3 separate regions of the Homo sapiens genome follow, and regions 2 and 3 are each linked to region 1. Evidence: promoter capture Hi-C in human tissues and cell types (Jung and others, 2019). All regions are on one chromosome and are shown on one strand. The core of a region is centred on a gene start or on the middle of the fragment in contact, and the rest is flanking DNA. Distances in the headings are between cores, read along the strand shown. Region 1 holds the start of DNAJA2 (DnaJ heat shock protein family (Hsp40) member A2). Region 2 overlaps PHKB (phosphorylase kinase regulatory subunit beta). Region 3 overlaps PHKB (phosphorylase kinase regulatory subunit beta).

The links. The method cuts DNA at HindIII sites, captures the fragments that hold promoters and counts their contacts. A contact is called where the count stands out against the background at its distance.
Region 2: a contact is called between a fragment that was not itself captured here and the fragment with the promoter of DNAJA2 in region 1, in 1 of the 25 tissues and cell types used here (dorsolateral prefrontal cortex).
Region 3: a fragment that was not itself captured here is called in contact with the fragment with the promoter of DNAJA2 in region 1 in 1 of the 25 tissues and cell types used here (lymphoblastoid cells).

Annotation. Positions count from the first base shown.
Region 1 is chr16:46,972,304-46,974,995 of GRCh38, reverse strand. It overlaps DNAJA2 (DnaJ heat shock protein family (Hsp40) member A2), which reads left to right and starts at 1,322. Exons shown (of 9, transcript NM_005880.4): 1 at 1,322-1,501. The coding sequence starts at 1,424. It overlaps DNAJA2-DT (DNAJA2 divergent transcript), which reads right to left and starts at 1,224. Exons shown (of 2, transcript NR_186372.1): 1 at 871-1,224. RefSeq lists enhancers at 911-1,000, 1,061-1,130 and silencers at 1,561-1,610, 1,641-1,720, 1,871-1,920, 1,951-2,020, 2,371-2,450. The HindIII fragment of the contact is 16,518 bases long and covers 1-2,692 here.
Region 2 is chr16:47,653,314-47,656,005 of GRCh38, reverse strand. The region is part of intron 20 of PHKB (phosphorylase kinase regulatory subunit beta); the gene reads right to left. Among named protein-coding and RNA genes, the nearest start is that of PHKB, 190 kb to the right of the region's middle. The HindIII fragment of the contact is 5,173 bases long and covers 1-2,692 here.
Region 3 is chr16:47,620,243-47,622,934 of GRCh38, reverse strand. The region is part of intron 14 of PHKB (phosphorylase kinase regulatory subunit beta); the gene reads right to left. Among named protein-coding and RNA genes, the nearest start is that of PHKB, 160 kb to the right of the region's middle. The HindIII fragment of the contact is 7,108 bases long and covers 1-2,692 here.

The DNA of each region.
Region 1 (2,692 bases), core at 73-2,572:
GGGTGGTGGGAACTCGAATGAGATAGCAGTGTTCACCAGTGCCCAGTAAAGGAAGACTTCACAGAGGGAGCAGGATTTCAGATGGGATTTGAGGAAAAGGGTTTAAGGACTATTAATGACTTATCACTGATTACTCTTAGGGTTTTCAAGCTAAATTTCAGAGTCCTTGTCATGGAATTCAGGCCCTCCACAACTAGGTCAAAGGGAACGCCAAGGAAGAAACATTATCCTGAGTGAGATGCTTATGCTGAAGTCTTTGCTATCAGTTCAGGTTCCAAGGGATCAGAAAACCTTACTTTTCTGTCTCCATAAACCGTAAATGGGTTGAAGGCAGGCACTTTTGTAACACTCCTCTCCCCGGACCAGGCCTCTGTACATCATAGCACTTGGTAGATGCACAGCATACTTTCTGAGCGAAACTAAAACGAATGTAAATCAAGTCACCTGGTGGCCAGACTTGCCTTACACCATCTAAACCTCTGGTGTTAGCTAATTTTAAAGCTATCAAGTAAGAGGCTTAAACACGTGGTCCAGATGCAACATGTGGACCTTGGTTTGGACCCGGATGCCACAAACCAATTGTAAAAGGACATGAGATCATCTGAAAAACCTAAATATGGACTGGGAATTAGATTAAGGAATTGTTAATTTCATTAGATGAGATTACATCGTTATGCCTTTAAAAGTTGTCTCTTAGATATTAAATATATACACTTAGGGTATTTATGAATGAAACGGTTTCCCTTAAAACACTAGAAATGTATGGTGGAGCCAATGAAACAGGTAAAAGGTAGCTAACTGCACTATGGGGAGTAATATACTGCTTCTGCTAAATGTTTCAGAATTCTCATAATATAAAACACAACATACACACACACGCGCCCCCCAGTTTTTTTCATCGTAAGCCCCGAGGGAGCCAGACCCAGAGGGTCCACCGACGTCCCGGATTCTAATAACGACATCTGCGCGCCAGGCGGGCCTCCTGCGGGAGCCGGGGCCCATTTTCTTTCGAAGCTAACGAAGCTGCTGCGCAGGCCTGTTAATTCCCTCAGCAGCCAGTGCGAGGTTAAACACGCGACCTCGCAACCATGGCTTTTGAGAGGAAGCTGAATTCCTGGGGTGCGCCGTGCACAGTTCTTCATTTCCTACGTTGGCCCTGCCCAGCCGCCTGGACCTGGAGGAAAACAGAGAACCTGGCCCACTCTTCAATACTTCGACCCCAGTGGCCGCGCCTCGGGCGCTCGGGGGCGGGCTCTGCACAGCGACGTCACGGCGCACCGTGCGCTGGGTCAAAGTTCAGCCCCGCCCCCGCTTCCCCCTCGCTGTCTCCCTCGGCCTGTGCCGCCGCCGACGCCGCTTGTGGGCCCGACTCCGCTCTGTCTGCTTCGCCACCTTCTCCCCGAGCACTGCCCGGCCGGCCGCCATGGCTAACGTGGCTGACACGAAGCTGTACGACATCCTGGGCGTCCCGCCCGGCGCCAGCGAGAACGAGCTGAAGAAGGTATCTGGGAGCGGGCCGGGCGGGTGTGAGGGGCGCGGGGCCTGCGCGGCCAGGGATGTCTTCTTCAGCCAGGCCGCGCTACTGGGCTGCCCGCGAGCCGGCGCCGGCCGTGACTGGCCCGGGCTGGGAGTCGGCGGCGGCGGCGGGACCGGCCTCGCCGCGAGCCGCGCACTCCGGCCTCGGCTGACCTTGGGGCCGCCGGCCCCGCCCGCCCGCAGATGCAGCAAATAAAACTCACTCCTGCGCAAACACGATGGGAGCCCTTCCTTCCTCCCTCCTTGAACGAGCGCCGGGGGCTGGTATCCCCCGGGAGGCAGCAGCTCGCCCGGTCCTTCGCGTCGAGGTCACCACCCCGGAAAAACAGGTTGGACCGAGGTGCTCAGCGCATCCCGGCCCCGAGAGAGAAGCTGTCCGCCCCGCGGCCGTCGGCCCCGGGTCTGGTGCTCCGCGGGGAGGAACGGCGGGGAGGTCGAGGCCGCCCCCACAGAGCGCCTCGGGCGGATGGGGTTGTTTCCTGGGTTCCGCGGCCGCCGGCTGCGGGAGCTCCTCCCTCTCTGCGTCCCTCGCCCATTGACCCGGAGGTAGCTGGGTCTGTGTTTGGATGCATTGTTCTTTGGGCAGGTAATGCTAATGTCCTGTACCTGCTTAGGAATAAGCCGTGGTCCCAGCCAAACGCCTGAGTGTACAGTAAACATAAATAGAAGGCCTTATTATTGCTATTTGCAATGCTGCGATATCTTTCATCTCAGGATTTCAAAGCACACGAGGCATTTAAGCCCCACAGCATCCTCACCAGGCTAAGAGCATCCAGATTTGTAAGCCGAGAAAAATGAGAATGCTCCTTAGGCAGTGAGAAGAGTACAGTGGACTTCCTGTTACCTTACCGGAAATGCTAGTCTGTATTATATAATTCACGAGCCTCCGTGAATGAAGATTTAAGTGCTTTAGGACCCAAACACCTCGTTGAGAGTGTGTGCAACTTCTCTACCACCGAAGTTGCCACCACGACCCCAGTTAACCACCACGTGCAAATAAAACACCAAAAGACGCTAACTAGGACCACCTTTACTTTTTCATGATGTTACAGTTAGAAGGAAGGCGTGAGCCATCGGGAGCAGGAATTGTGACTTTAGCTTGATTTATAGTAATGTTTTGCAGTCCGCAAAGCTTAACAGTCATTTATCTCGAATT
Region 2 (2,692 bases), core at 71-2,570, 680 kb before region 1:
TGAATCATGACAAAACTACTGACCTCTTTCTCCTATAATTTCTGAAACACAACTAAAAATGGGAAAATGAGATAGGTAGTGAAGTAGACATTAAACTCTGCTGCTGAAAAGAAAGTGATGAAAGTTCAGGTGCTTGAGTATAAAAAGTAGTGAACTAGGAATGGGAAACCATGAATTCTATTCCCTTCTGCAGTAACTAGTCTTAGGACTACAGACAGTTACTGTCCTACAAAGAGCTCTAGTTCTGTTTGTAAAATGAGAAGATTAGATGAAATATCTTAAGGTCTTGACCAACTTGAGCTTTGTGTATAAGGATATATAAGCAAAAAGTTTCCCAATTTCAGATGACACAGGATTAAAAAGGATATCATTCTGACTTTAAAACTCTATGCTGTGCTTGACATTAAAATAAAACAAAAAGAAAAGGAGAAACCTTCAATTTGACTTGAGAGAAAATCACCACACTTTGCACTGTCTTTGTAATTTGTCTATGACTCTTCAAATGAAATGAAAACTCTCCACAACATGGCAGAATATTAAACTTTAAAGTAAAATTATTTTCAACTCAAAGTCATCACAAAACTAAGAATTTGTCAACATCAGAGGCTAAAACTGATAGCTTATGATATGCCCAAAGTAAAAGCTTGAAAGTATTTTGATTTCTTCTTAAAATAAACATCTTTTAAAATTAAGTCATTTAATCCACCTGAAATGTATTTTGGTGTACGATGTGAGGTGATACTCTAACTGCCTTAATTTTTCCCAAAGTATATATTAAATAATCTATACATCCACCATTAATTTATTGTTTCCTTGATTACATATTATTTTAAGTTCCTGTGTGTATACTGGGGTGTTTTTCTGAGTTTACCTATCCTCTGCCATCAATTATAGTGAATAAGTACTACATTGTTTCACTGACTTCTCAATTTTGGTGACTGAATTTTTCATTTAGAATTTCTATTTGATTCTTTTTAAATGTACTATCAAAGTTTCTAATAAAATTCTCCAACTTGTTATCTAATTTTTTTCTTTTCTTTATTTATTTTTTTATTATATTTTAAGTTTTTGGGGTACATGTGCACAACATGCAGGTTTGTTACATATGTATACATGTGCCATGTTGGTGTGCTGCACCCATTAACTCGTCATTTAGCATTAGGTATATCTCCTAATGCTATCCCTCCCCCCTCCCCCCACCACACAACAGGCCCTGGTGTGTGATGTTCCCCATCCTGTGTCCAAGTGTTCTCATTGTTCAATTCGCACCTATGAGTGAGAACATGTGGTGTTCGGTTTTCCGTCCTTGCGATAGTTTGCTGAGAATGATGGTTTCCAGCTTCATCCATGTCCCTACAAAGGACATGAACTCATCCTTTTTTATGGCTGCATAGTATTCCATGGTGTATATGTGCCACATTTTCTTAATCCAGTCTATCATTGTTGGACATTTGGGTTGGTTCCAAGTCTTTGCTATTGTGAATAGTGTCGCAATAAACATATGTGTGCATGTGTCTTTATAGTAGCATGATTTATAATCCTTTGGGTATATACCCAGTAATGGGATGGCTGGGTCAAATGGTATTTCCAGTTCTAGATCCTTGAGGAATCGCCACACCGACATCCACAATGGTTGAACTAGTTTACAGTCCCACCAACAGTGTAAAAGTGTTCCTATTTCTCCACATCCTCTCCAGCACCTGTTGTTTCCTGACTTTTTAATGATCGCCATTTTAACTGGTGTGAGATGGTATCTCTTTGTGGTTTTGATGTGCATTTCTCTGATGGCCAGTTAAGCATATTGATCGTAGTTATTCTGACGTCTATGTCTGATAACTCTAATATCTGAACCAATGTAGGTGGCTCTCTGTTGTTTGATCACTCGTGGCATGCCTGATAATTTTGAATGAAAGACAGACACTGCACATATTTGTAGAAATACTTTGAGGTTCTGGATAATGTTATCTACTACTCTTTGTGAGGAGTGAACTATTTCTGATTCCCTTTTAGTCAAAGGTATAGCTTTTCAAGAGGGTCATCTGGAAGTCTGAAGTATTTATTGAAATCCCTCTTCCCTGGTGGGCCCTGAACTCTGATTTTTGTCCTTAACCATATGAAATTGCCAAAAGCTCTACTCCACTGAAATTACCATGATTATAATAAACTAGTAGACTAATTTAGGAGGTACTCACATTTTTGTAATAGTCTTTTCATCCAAGAATATGGTATAGCCCATTATTTATTCAAATCTTATATTTCTCTTCAAAATTATCTAGGTCTTTTTTTTCCATATAGGCCCACATATTTCTTAAAAGGAATAGAAAAATGCCTAGGTACATCCTGGAATGGGAGGGACACTTAAGCATAAAATCAAAAGTAGATTTCTGGTTAATATGACCAAGACATATCTTTAACTCCTGTTTTTCCTAAAATCCCAAAAATGATAGTGGAAAAAAATGTTTAAGGTATAAACCCACTAAGGTATAAATCCATTAGGACAAAGAGAACAGGAAAGAGCCTCAGGACCCTAAGATCCAGACACTGCTGGGATTCACAGACGCTCCACATAGGAAGACTGGGTCCAAAAGTTCCTTTCCATTCCCTAAACACTTAGGGAGTTACTATCTGCTTCCAGCTCCCTGATTTTTGAGAGACAAAAGGCTTTTTCTCTGGTTAAAGACACTGCACTCAA
Region 3 (2,692 bases), core at 124-2,623, 650 kb before region 1:
TTCATGCAAAATTCTATGCATTTGTATATTTAGAGGAGAAAGCATGAAACTCCCACTTCCTCATTAATTTGAAAAATGAGAGACCAAGTGTACTATATGTTTTTAGCTGAGATCTATATAAATATGTACATGATTTAGCAAACAAGTACTGACTTTCATCCTCAATTTGGAAACTTGCAGCACAGAAAATAAGCTCTTATGACTAAAAAGCATTCCTTTCATATTGGCCTTTTCTCCAAAGACTGTCAAAGTAGATCAATCCATTTTAATTGGCATATTAAATGGGCTAGTCTACTTCACAGATTCAAAGCTTGGGTGTCACTGAATGCGAAACTGAATTCTCTCAAGGGTGTGTCAATACACATGATCTGCTCTATCATAATAATTCTGCCATTAAAGTAAAATATTGCCTCAAGTAGCTGACCAAAAATACTTGTATTTTATTCACCTGCATGACAGCAAAAATACATGGAACTCTCCAAGGACCTCATGAGAGAAAAATCATTCCTCAAGAAAGTAGACACTCCCAAAGCCCAATCCTTTGTTTTAGAAGGGGGCAACTTGTCAGGATATAGATTATTAAACAAGGTGGAGCTAGAAGGCGTTAATTGATAGGTTTTCTTCAAAGATCACTAGACCTTTAAAAATGTGAATAGATTCAAAACAGGAAAAAACGTGAAGTAGGTAAATTTCAGGTTAAGTTCACAAATTTATTCATATTTATGAATAACTGAGATTTCTTTCCTTAGAGAAAAATGTCAGAAATATAGATTCATTAAAACAATACTAGATCATAATAATCCTTGTATATCTTTATTCTGGACCATAAATCTTGCTTTCTTACTTCTATTTTTCCTTCTTTTACATTTTAGCCATGAGTATAAGAAGTTTCCATCCTGTAGATGAAATATTTCATTATACATCATGCCTATTATTGAAACTTTTAATTTTAATAGGTTAAATGGGTTAATTAGAATGATGTTATTAAATGTGTTTAAGCTCATTTTTTTGACTTCCAATTCAACTTTTCTCAGTTCTGGATTTTTTTTATCAAGGCATTGAATTTTAATTGGCTCAGGTATAAATACCAATTGATAAGAGACTCTTCATTACCCTTCAAGACAGCAGACAGAATTACCTGAGGAGAAACTCTGTGCGGCTGTGGCATATTCAGGCTAGGCTCTCTCAGAAGCATCTTTGATGCCTTGACTATTTTATTCTGTTTTACTAAGATAATCATAAGAACTTCTATTCAGTACTCAAATTCACTCCCATGCTTGGGTTTTTGGTCCCACACAAACGCTTTATTTCTTTGCCAAGCTAGTGAAGTTGTTGTTGTTATTTTTTAATCTTTTAAGTAGAAATTATGTCTCAAACTGGTTAAACTATTTGAGAGCATTAGAACACACTGAGCCAGATAAAACTGAGCCACATGCATGATTTCCTTAAATCACCTTAAATATCCTTAAATCTTTTTAAAGACTAATAAATCTTTAAAAACTGAATAGATTTAGAACAAAACTTTAAAAAGGGAAATCGCTACAAGTCCATATTGTAGGAGTGCTATATAATGTATCTACCAAATTAGGAGGGGTTTATAACCTTTCTTGGATTGCAGTAAACTCAACTTCCTGAGCAGATGGTCTTCCACCATATAATTCCTTTTTAACTCCCTACAGTCTGGCGACTGGGCACACTACTCCACTAAAGTCACTTAAAGGTTACCAATAACCTAGATTATGGAAGCCAGCAACAGAAGCGCTGGAAGGGGATTTACGAATTAAACCCAGCCAAATAATTTTACAGATTAGAGAACTACACTCCAGAGATGCTAGGAGTCCTTCCCCAGATTATACTGCAGTGAATCACACAAGGTCTAAAGAACTAGTACCTGAATTTCTGCCAGTGCTTTGCTGCTCCTCCCAGCCAATGAGGTAGTCAGCCTTCCTGAACCAAGAAATCAAAATTCTTTACACTTTATACCATTTTAAACTTCTTGCTAGATTATACTGTCCTGCCCTTCCTAGAACATCTCTTTTTTTTTATATTTTTTATTTTTTTGAGACAGAGTCTCACTCTGTTGCCCAGGCTGAACTGCAGTGGCACAATCTTGGCTCACTGCAACCTCTGCCTCCTAGGTTCAAGCAATTCTCCTGCTTCAGCCTCCCGAGTAGCTGGGACTACAAGTACACGCCACCACACCTGGCTAATTTTTGTATTTTTAGTAGAGACGGGGTTTCACCATGTTGGCCAGGCTGGTCTTGAACTCCTGACCTCGTGATCCACTTGCCTCGGCCTCCCCAAGTGCTGGGATTACAGGCGTGAGCCACCATGCCCGGCCAGAACATCTCTTTACTCCAGCATCTGCATTACCTATACTGTGGGAAAGAATGAAGCCTGGAGCCTGGCCTTCCAAGAATTGTCTGCTCCCATAGGTTAATTTCCACCATGAACCATGTTCAATAGAATACAATCTTGCATCTTTTATTTATATTAACTACTGGGCACCTCAATTAATTGTCATGTCTGCATTGGAACTATCAAAATACAAGTAACAACAACTGCTAAGCCCAAGGTTGGATTCAGAAGCATGCAGTGTGCCTCCTGTGTTCTTAACCATTTTGCTAGGCAGAACATCCAACAATATGAAACCTTTCCTATTTGTACTCTTGAATATTGAAATAGCATTTTC